3 separate regions of the Homo sapiens genome follow, and all the other regions are linked to region 3. Evidence: promoter capture Hi-C in 16 types of primary human blood cells and fetal thymus (Javierre and others, 2016). All regions are on one chromosome and are shown on one strand. Each heading gives the region's core, a stretch centred on a gene start or on the middle of the fragment in contact. The rest is flanking DNA. Distances are from core to core; before and after follow the strand shown. Region 1 has its middle 5.3 kb from the start of LINC01527. Region 2 has its middle 6.5 kb from the start of LCE7A. Region 3 holds the start of IVL (involucrin).

Evidence for each region. The method cuts DNA at HindIII sites, captures the fragments that hold promoters and counts their contacts. A CHiCAGO score of 5 or more calls a contact.
Region 1: a fragment that was not itself captured here is called in contact with the fragment with the promoter of IVL in region 3 in 7 of 17 cell types (naive CD8 T cells, naive CD4 T cells, total CD8 T cells and 4 more); the score reaches 7.6 in naive CD8 T cells.
Region 2: a fragment that was not itself captured here is called in contact with the fragment with the promoter of IVL in region 3 in 2 of 17 cell types (naive CD8 T cells and naive CD4 T cells); the score reaches 6.4 in naive CD8 T cells.

Annotation. Positions count from the first base shown.
Region 1 is chr1:152,953,146-152,955,970 of GRCh38, reverse strand. No RefSeq gene overlaps it. Among named protein-coding and RNA genes, the nearest start is that of LINC01527, 5.3 kb to the right of the region's middle. The HindIII fragment of the contact is 152 bases long and covers 1,275-1,426 here.
Region 2 is chr1:152,852,103-152,854,802 of GRCh38, reverse strand. No RefSeq gene overlaps it. Among named protein-coding and RNA genes, the nearest start is that of LCE7A, 6.5 kb to the left of the region's middle. The HindIII fragment of the contact is 6,660 bases long and covers 1-2,700 here.
Region 3 is chr1:152,907,189-152,909,934 of GRCh38, reverse strand. IVL (involucrin) reads right to left here and starts at 1,389. Exons shown (of 2, transcript NM_005547.4): 1 at 1,346-1,389; 2 at 1-156. The coding sequence starts at 137. RefSeq lists silencers at 149-1,349, 1,722-1,774, promoters at 1,395-1,629, 1,349-2,288, 149-2,746, enhancers at 1,509-1,788, 2,707-2,746, 2,622-2,746 and a cis regulatory region at 1,543-2,039. The HindIII fragment of the contact is 6,184 bases long and covers 1-2,746 here.

The sequences.
Region 1 (2,825 bases), core at 101-2,600, 46 kb before region 3:
ATAGACTGGATTAAGAAAATGTGGCACATATACAACATGGAATACTATGCAGCCATAAAAAATGATGAGTTCATGTCCTTTGTAGGGACATGGATGAAATTGGAAATCATCATTCTCAGTAAACTATCGCAAGAACAAAAAACCAAACACCGCATATTCTCACTCATAGGTGGGAATTGAACAATGAGATCACATGGACACAGGAAGGGGAATATCACACTCTGGGGACTGTGGTGGGGTGGGGGGAGGGGGGAGGGATAGCATTGGGAGATATACCTAATGCTAGATGACGAGTTAGTGGGTGCAGCGCACCAGCACGGCACATGTATACATATGTAACTAGCCTGCACAATGTGCACATGTACCCTAAAACTTAAAGTATAATAAAAAAAAAGGGTGGGCCTATATGAAAGACAGATCTATATTTGTTTGTTATTTTTAACAAATTTTTATTTTGGAATAATTTTAGGTTTACAGAAAAATTGCAAAATAGTACAAAGCGGTTTTATATATCCTTCCAGTTTCTCTAATGTTGACTTTTTTCTTCTTTTTAAATTTTTAAAGGAATTTTATTTAATTTATTTTTAATTGACAAATGTGGTATATCTTTATTGTGTACAACAGAATGTTTTGAAATATGCATAAATTGTGGAATGGCTAAATTGAGCTAATTAATATATGTGTACCTTCACATACGATTTTTTTTTTTGTGGGGAGAACACACAATCTACTCTTAGTGATTTTCAAGTGTATAATACATTATTAACTGTAGTCATCACTTGTAGGATAGATCTCTTGAACTTATTCCTCCTATCAAACTGAAATTTTATATTGCTTTGACCAATATCTCCCCAGTCCTTCCCCAATGCCCAGCCTCTGGTAACCACCCTTCTACTTTCTGCTTCCATGAGTTTGACTTTCTAGATCCCACACATAAGTAGATCATGTGGTATTTGTCTTTCTGTGCCAAGAATGATCTATATTTGACTCTCAGCTCTTTCAGCTGGCAAAGTTTATAACCTCTTTGGTTCTTGCTTTCCTCATTTGCAAAATTAAATTTTTTACTTATATGGTAGTAATGTATATTATATAAGATAAGTATTAAGATCCCAGTATAGTGTCTTGCTTATAGTAGTAAATTGCTGCTTAAACACACATACACACACACACACACACCTGGCCCCGGAAGGTGGATGTGTTGGTTCCCTGGAGGGAGGAAAGTTAGTCCTAAGCCCGAGTGCTCTTCAAATACAGATGCATGTTTTAGCTAAGCTTTCTCTACGCCTCCATGCAGAAGCATCTGGTGGCCTTCAACCCCAGACTTACCTCTTTTAGGGTTTTCCATGATGATGAATCATTAGGCGAAGAGATTAAACACAAAGATTAGCGTGAGTCACCTCATACAGAGTCAGAACTGAAAGAAGCTTAGAAATAGTTCAGGAAGTCCAACATTGTCATGTACAGGTGAGGACACTGGGAAAAGGGAATGACTTGTCCTGGGTCCCGCAGAAGAACAGCAGAATAACTAAGACAATACTCAGCTCTCATATACTCTGTCCAGTGCTCCTAATTCAGAGCTCCAGTGTCTCCTAAGTCCACCGAAGATGAGCATTCATGTCACACACATCATCGGCCCTTGGTGGCAGAGGAGACTTGAGCCAAAGGGCTGCCTGGAGAGCCCAGGACAGGGAAAATGGTTCCCTTTTTATTTTATTTAAGAGTGAGATGGAAGCTGCATAGTCTAATTCCTGAGAGTTGACATAAAAATTCCAGAAGACAGAGGACCAAATATCAAGGGTCAGGAGTCTGGGGTAAAACAATGACTGTTCTCTGCGTATGAACAAGACCCCCAGACAACAATAACACACTTAAACATGGCATGCCGAACTGATAGCCCCAAAGTGACTGGGAGGAGTTTCAGCATAGGTGGGTATAAGCCACGCCCAGGGCGTCTTCAGTGCCAGGCATCTGTGATTCTCCCAGGAATGTCAGATTGCCAGGGCACACGTACAAACCTGCAGGAGATGGTGGAGCACACTGAAGCTGGCCGCACCCACAGGCAGGGCTTCCTTCAAAGGATGACTGACTGCCGAGTGCTGAAGCTTCATTGCAGAAATCCATTACCAGCTAGGGTCCCCCTGCTCCCCACAACCTGGGCATACACAGCAGGATGTGCATCTAGCAGTGGGGTTCCCTTTCCCTGGGGCTTGTGGAGGAGGGCATGAGGGAAAGATAGAACACCACTGCTGTCAGAAACTCTGAGCTTCAAATTTAGGACTTGAAGTTCAAGTTATTCTCATTTTTTAGCTTAGAAAGGTTAAGTTGGCCAAGATTAATACAAAAGTAAGGAAGAGGAGATTTGAGCCCAGGTCTGTCACACTCCAAGATGTGTAGGTACTCTCTTTCCTGCACCCTACCATGCCATCTTCCATGGAATTTCTTTGTTTGGAGCAGAATAAAGAGAATATGTATACAAGCACTTCTCTGATGAAGGCATACCCCCTTCGAAGCCCTCAGCATCACACTCTTCATCCTGAGACCTCTGTTCTGTGGAAATTTCACTCAAGCCAGATGGTGAGACATCCTTGCTGGAATGTGGCAGAGGCCTGGAGAAAGGGGAGAGGACAAGTCACTAGGTCACAGGAGTAGAGCTGGATTTGATGTTCTGGGGCCATGCTCAACAGTGGGAATTACAGTGTGAGTGTGTGTGTGCATCTGGGTGTCTGTGAGTGTGTGTCAGTGGGTGTAATCATACTTGAGTGTGATTGACCGCATGTGAGTGTGTGTTGGTGTGTGGTGAGCTCTCATGTGAGGGTTAATGAGCT
Region 2 (2,700 bases), core at 55-2,554, 55 kb after region 3:
AGCTAAAACACCTTATCAGGAGCCTGTATTTACACATGTCACCATCAAGTGATGCCTGTTAATCCTAAAATAGGAAGGGATGAAGAGTGATCATCTTGCCTATCATTTTCCTCCAGACCCAAGAATATATTTTTAAATAAGAATATATTTCTAAAATCCCAAGAATATGTTTCTGAATCTTCTAAGAAAGGAGACTCCACTGCCTACAATGACAGAGCTTTCTGACTCCTGTGAAACTTCATGTCTTTTTGCTGATGTTAAAGATGAATTCTACCAACTAAGGTGAGCAGAACAGATCTTTGGCTCCACCGCCCTCCTATTCTTGGAAACAGTTGTTCTGATGATATCTCTGGCTCATCACAACTCCATGCCTTTGATCTCTCCATCATTTTCTCCACTGTGCCTAAAGGAGATAACCCAGCTGGACTGTATCTCTCATCCTGCAATTAACACATCTTAAGAGAAAGGTAGGGAAGATGAATCCCTCTTATCACCACCCTTCACCTCAAAGCCTGTTTTCAGTAGTGTTTTTACCTAGGAAAGCCACTACAAAACTCTTAAGGGCATGGGGGGACACATTAAGAAGCATTAGGCAAGTTGCTCAATCTTTCTGGAGCCCACACCTTCACCTGTGACACCAAGACCCCGTGTTCCATCACTCTGTGAGCCTGTAGTTCTAAACCATTCATTCTTTTAGTGATGGTGGTCACACAAGGGAAGCCCCTCACATCCCTCCATGCATTGCATTTCACATGCTTTGTAATACGTTGTATTACATTTCACATGCTTTGTAATGCATTGTATTGCATTTCACATGCTTTATTTTCTCTTCTTAACAACCTTGAGAGTTTGTTATTATTGCATCTAGAAAAACTGAATACTGGACAGTTAAAAGTAAGTGCATATCACACAGTCTGTAAGGGTGCAGAGCAATAAGGCAAGCCCGGCAAAGAACTGCGCAAAGCAAGGAAGCTGTCCTGGACTCTCAGTGCTGTTGTAGATCAAGAATTGCAAACCTGGTTGGGAACATGAGCCATCTTGGAAGTACTTTTAAAATGCAGATCCCGGCCAGGTGTGGTGTCTCACGCCTGTAATCCAAACACTTTGGTTGGCCAAGGCAGGGAAATCACAAGGTCAGGAGATTGAAACTATCCTGGCCAACATGGAGAAACCCCATCACTACTAAAAATACAAAAATTAGCTGGGTGTGGTGGTACGCGCCTGTAATCCCAGCTACTCGGGAGGCTGAGGCAGGAGAATGGCTTGAACCCAGGAGGTGGAGATTGAAGTGAGCCGAGATAGTGCCACTGCACTCCAGCCGCCTGGTGACAAAGCGAGATTCTGTCAAAATAATAATAATAATAATAATAAAATAAATGAATAAAAAATAAAAGAAGCAGACACCTGGTCTCTAACTAAGACCTACTGAATCATAATCTCCAAGGAGTGGGTCTTTATGATTTACATTGGTTAACTATTTCCCAGGTTATTCTACCTAGTTTGGTAGCCACTGTCCTGGCATGTTCTGGTAGAACCGTAGAACTATAGCCAGCCCATGAAACATTCTGGTAACAACATTTTCACAGTCCTACCACCTTCCTCTGAGCTCCTCTAGGGATCTTCCTAGGAAATTGAAAGATGCAGGAAGCATAGTAAACTCACAAACTTATTTAGCCTTGCAGAGGCCTTAGAAAGAATGTAGTGTGGTTTTCCACCAGGAGCTTGTATCTCCTCACCCACATGCCTAGTGGTGAGCTTCCTGGCCTAAATGAAAATGCTTTTAGTTGGAGAACTCATTACCTCACAAGGCAGTCCATTTCTTTCCACATTGTTATCTTTGTTAGAAATTTTTCTCCAATAAAATAGGAACACTTTTACACAGTTGGTGAGACTGTAAACTAGTTCAACCATTGTGGAAGACCGTGTGGCAATTCCTCAAGGATCTAGAACTAGAAATACCATTTGACCCAGCCATCCCATTACTGGGTATATACCCAAAGGATTATAAGTCATGCTGCTGTAAAGACACATGCACACGTATGTTTATTGCGGCACTATTCACAATAGCAAGGACTTGGAACCAACCCAAATGTCCATCAATAATAGACTGGATTAAGAAAATGTGGTACATATACACCATGGAAAACTATGCAGCCATAAAAAAGGATGAGTCCATGTCCTTTGTGGGGACATGGATGAAGCTGGAAACCATCATTCTGAGCAAACTATCACAAGAACAGAAAACCAAACACCGCATGTTCTCACTCATAGGTGGGAGTTGAACTATGAGAACACTTGGACACAGGGTGGGGAACACCACACACTGGGGCCTGTCATGGGGTTGGGGGAGTGGGGAGGGATAGCATTAGGAGGTATACCTAATGTAAATGACGAGTTAATGGGTGCAGCACACCAACATGGCACATGTATACATATGTAACAAACCTGCACGTTGTACACATGTACCCTAGAACTTAAAGTATAATAAAAAAAAGAAATTTTTCTCCAAAAAATGCATAAGATCAGATCATAAAGAGGTAATCACTATAATACCTAAATAAAGCAGTTCTTTACATATAGCTGGTACTTACTAGGGGTTCATTGAATGATTGAGTTAATTACAAATAAAATATTTCAGTGGGCTTGGTTATAGGCCTTCATTTTAGAAACAAGAGTTGGAGGTTCACAGAAGTCACCTTA
Region 3 (2,746 bases), core at 140-2,639:
TTCTGGCATGGGGGAGGCAGTGGAGTTGGCTGTTTCATTTGCTCCTGATGGGTATTGACTGGAGGAGGAACAGTCTTGAGGAGCTCCTGACTGAGGGCAGGGGAGAGGGTCACTGGCAGTGTGTGTTGCTGGGACATCTTAGAAGCTACTGTCAACCTGAAAGACAGAAGAGGTCTGATGCACAGGCTGAAGGCAAAGGAAATAGATGAAACCTTGGGAATCTGCAGAAGTATCTGGTTTTTTAGCATCCCCTCTTCCCTTGGGCAGGGTACTGTTCTACCACCTCTGGACTATCATTTCCCAAAAGCAGCAGAGAGAGAAGGGTGGAAATGTGGAGGGGCAGAGAAAGGTCCTCCTAGGAGCCTCCTTGTTCCCAGGTGAGAGCCAACAAGGAGATCTGTCTGCAGGGCTGTTCTGCAAGGGTGGGTCAGGTGCCAGCTCACTGTCTGCTCTTGTCTAGTCCTTGTGTCCACCCTCATCGCTTCACTGACCAAGGAGCAGAGATGCGTTCTGGGATTATGTCACAGTGAGGAGTAAGGCCTTAGGGAATGAAATGTCTCTTGGAGAACACCAAGTCCTAGAAAACCAATAGGCCGTGCCAGAGAGGACCTAAGAGGTCATGGTGTGACCTCCAGACTGGAGCCACAGGACATGCTCTAGGCCTGAATCTCCCATTGGAATGCTGTGTGTTTCTGGGCATGTCACTTAGTCTCCTGGGATTTGGTTTTCCCCCCTGTAAAGCCAGCAGGTTGGCCTATTCAACCCCAGGGCTGCTTTCTCTCCTGACCTTCTGAGGTTTAGCTGCAGTCCTTGTGTCTGGGGTGGGGCTGCGGGAGCTGGAAGGTTGCTGAGAGTTGGAGGTTGTTCTTCCAAGTCTTATACTTCTAAGTTGAGTTTTCCTGTCCCAGCTCTGCCTAGGTTTCTCCAAATAGAAAGGTTTCCCCATTCTGCCATCCCTCTGTGCAGCATAGCCAAAAGGTAGAAGCTCTTCCCTGAACCTCTCCCTCCATAAAGAAGGCAAAATGATGGTCTGTCAAAACCCAAGAGGTTTAGGAAAGAAGTTGAATGCTATTCCCCTCCTCCCTTCCATAATTCTCTCTCACACACAAATCCAAAAATATGGTCACAAGAAAAGATGGGACATAGGATGATTACTCTCTGTTCTGCACTTCTGTGCCAAGGCACTTTTCTCTCAGTACTCTGACTCGAGTCCCCCTAGAATGAAAGTCCAGCTGAATCCAGCCCCAGAGTAATGCCCACCCCCACCCAGGCTGCCCACCCCCACCACATCGTATGCTGTTGGAGGTCCCGAGTCCCAACCCTGGTTCTACCATCCGACACTTACCAGACTCACAGTAAGGCTGAGGCAGAGGCTTTGGTGGAGTGCTGAGCTGAGCAGGAGTCAGGGCACTCTTTATATCATTCTGCAGCCTGGCCTCCCTCCAGGTTGAAGGTGATGGACAGGTTTCACCACTCTAGTTGGTCAACTTCCTCTAACCCCTTCCTGACTCACCACAGGCATCTTAAGCAGCAAACCCTTTAGGGCCCCATTTCCCAGGGACACACAGCTCCTGCCTGGCCAGAGGATTCTGGTAGCTCAACTATTCCTGTGATGCTTTTCTGACCTAGGCACAGGGAGCTGAGTGAGGCATCCTACTGTTTTGTGACCTTAGTCAAACTTCTGCTCTGAATCTCAATTTTTCCACTTTCAAAATGAGTTTGTTCTCATTATTAGGCCAAAAGATTCACTTTCAAGGGCATGAAATGGAAAGTTATGTGTCTTTCGGGGATGTCCAGGCTGGGTTATATGTTTGAAGATAGAGTCACTTCCCATGAAGGGGTGGTATTTCTGGGGTGTTCTCTTGGGCCACAAGCCCTTCCTCTCTCAGAATATATTTTTTAACTCCATCCTATGTGGAAATAAACTCTGTCTTTGGTGGAGGGAGTTTGACTTTAGGCCAAGTAGAGTCAAGTAGAAGGCTTCTAGGAGTCCTCTGCTGCTGCCACTTGCTGCCCAGCCTCTATGCCCGAGGCTGCAGTTAGAGAAGTTCTCAGGAATGCCATGCTCATAAGAACTCCAAAGCACGGCCCACTCTAGGCAAGGAAACAAGATTGAATCTACACAATATAAAAATAAGTATTGCTTTTTATAATGACAAACCAAACTACTTTCTTAAGTACTTTTTTAAATGCATGAAGGTATAAAGATCAGAATCAAATCATCCATTTCCTGTTGTAAATCATACTCTAGAAATAGCTTAAGAAATCTTTCAGAGTGGGGATTTGAGCACATCTCTCCCCCGTGCCAACAGTGCACCAGCACACTTGAAATAACATTCAAACTCACTGCCGTGGTTTAAAAGACCCTGGGTACCTGGCTTCTGCCTTCTTCTGGGGCCCCAATTCATGTCAATCTCTCCCTGAGAGGTATATTCTTACCTCACTGAGGGCCTTCGGTTCCTGAGATGAGCCCAGAGCTCTCCACCTGGGGGCTTGGCACCTGCTCTCCTTCTGCCCACCGGCCCCTCCCCAGGTCTCTGGTTCTTTTATGCCTTTCAGCTTCAGTGTCAATGTTGGGGTCTGTCAGAGATCCTTCTCTGTGTACCATATCTAAAGGATTGGTACTTAATTTCACTTATAACAATCTAGAGTAATTTATTTGCATTTGTTCACTTGCTTATTGTCTATCTTTCCCACTGGAAAATAAGCTAAGAGCAGCGTATACCTGGTATGTTTTCCACTATAC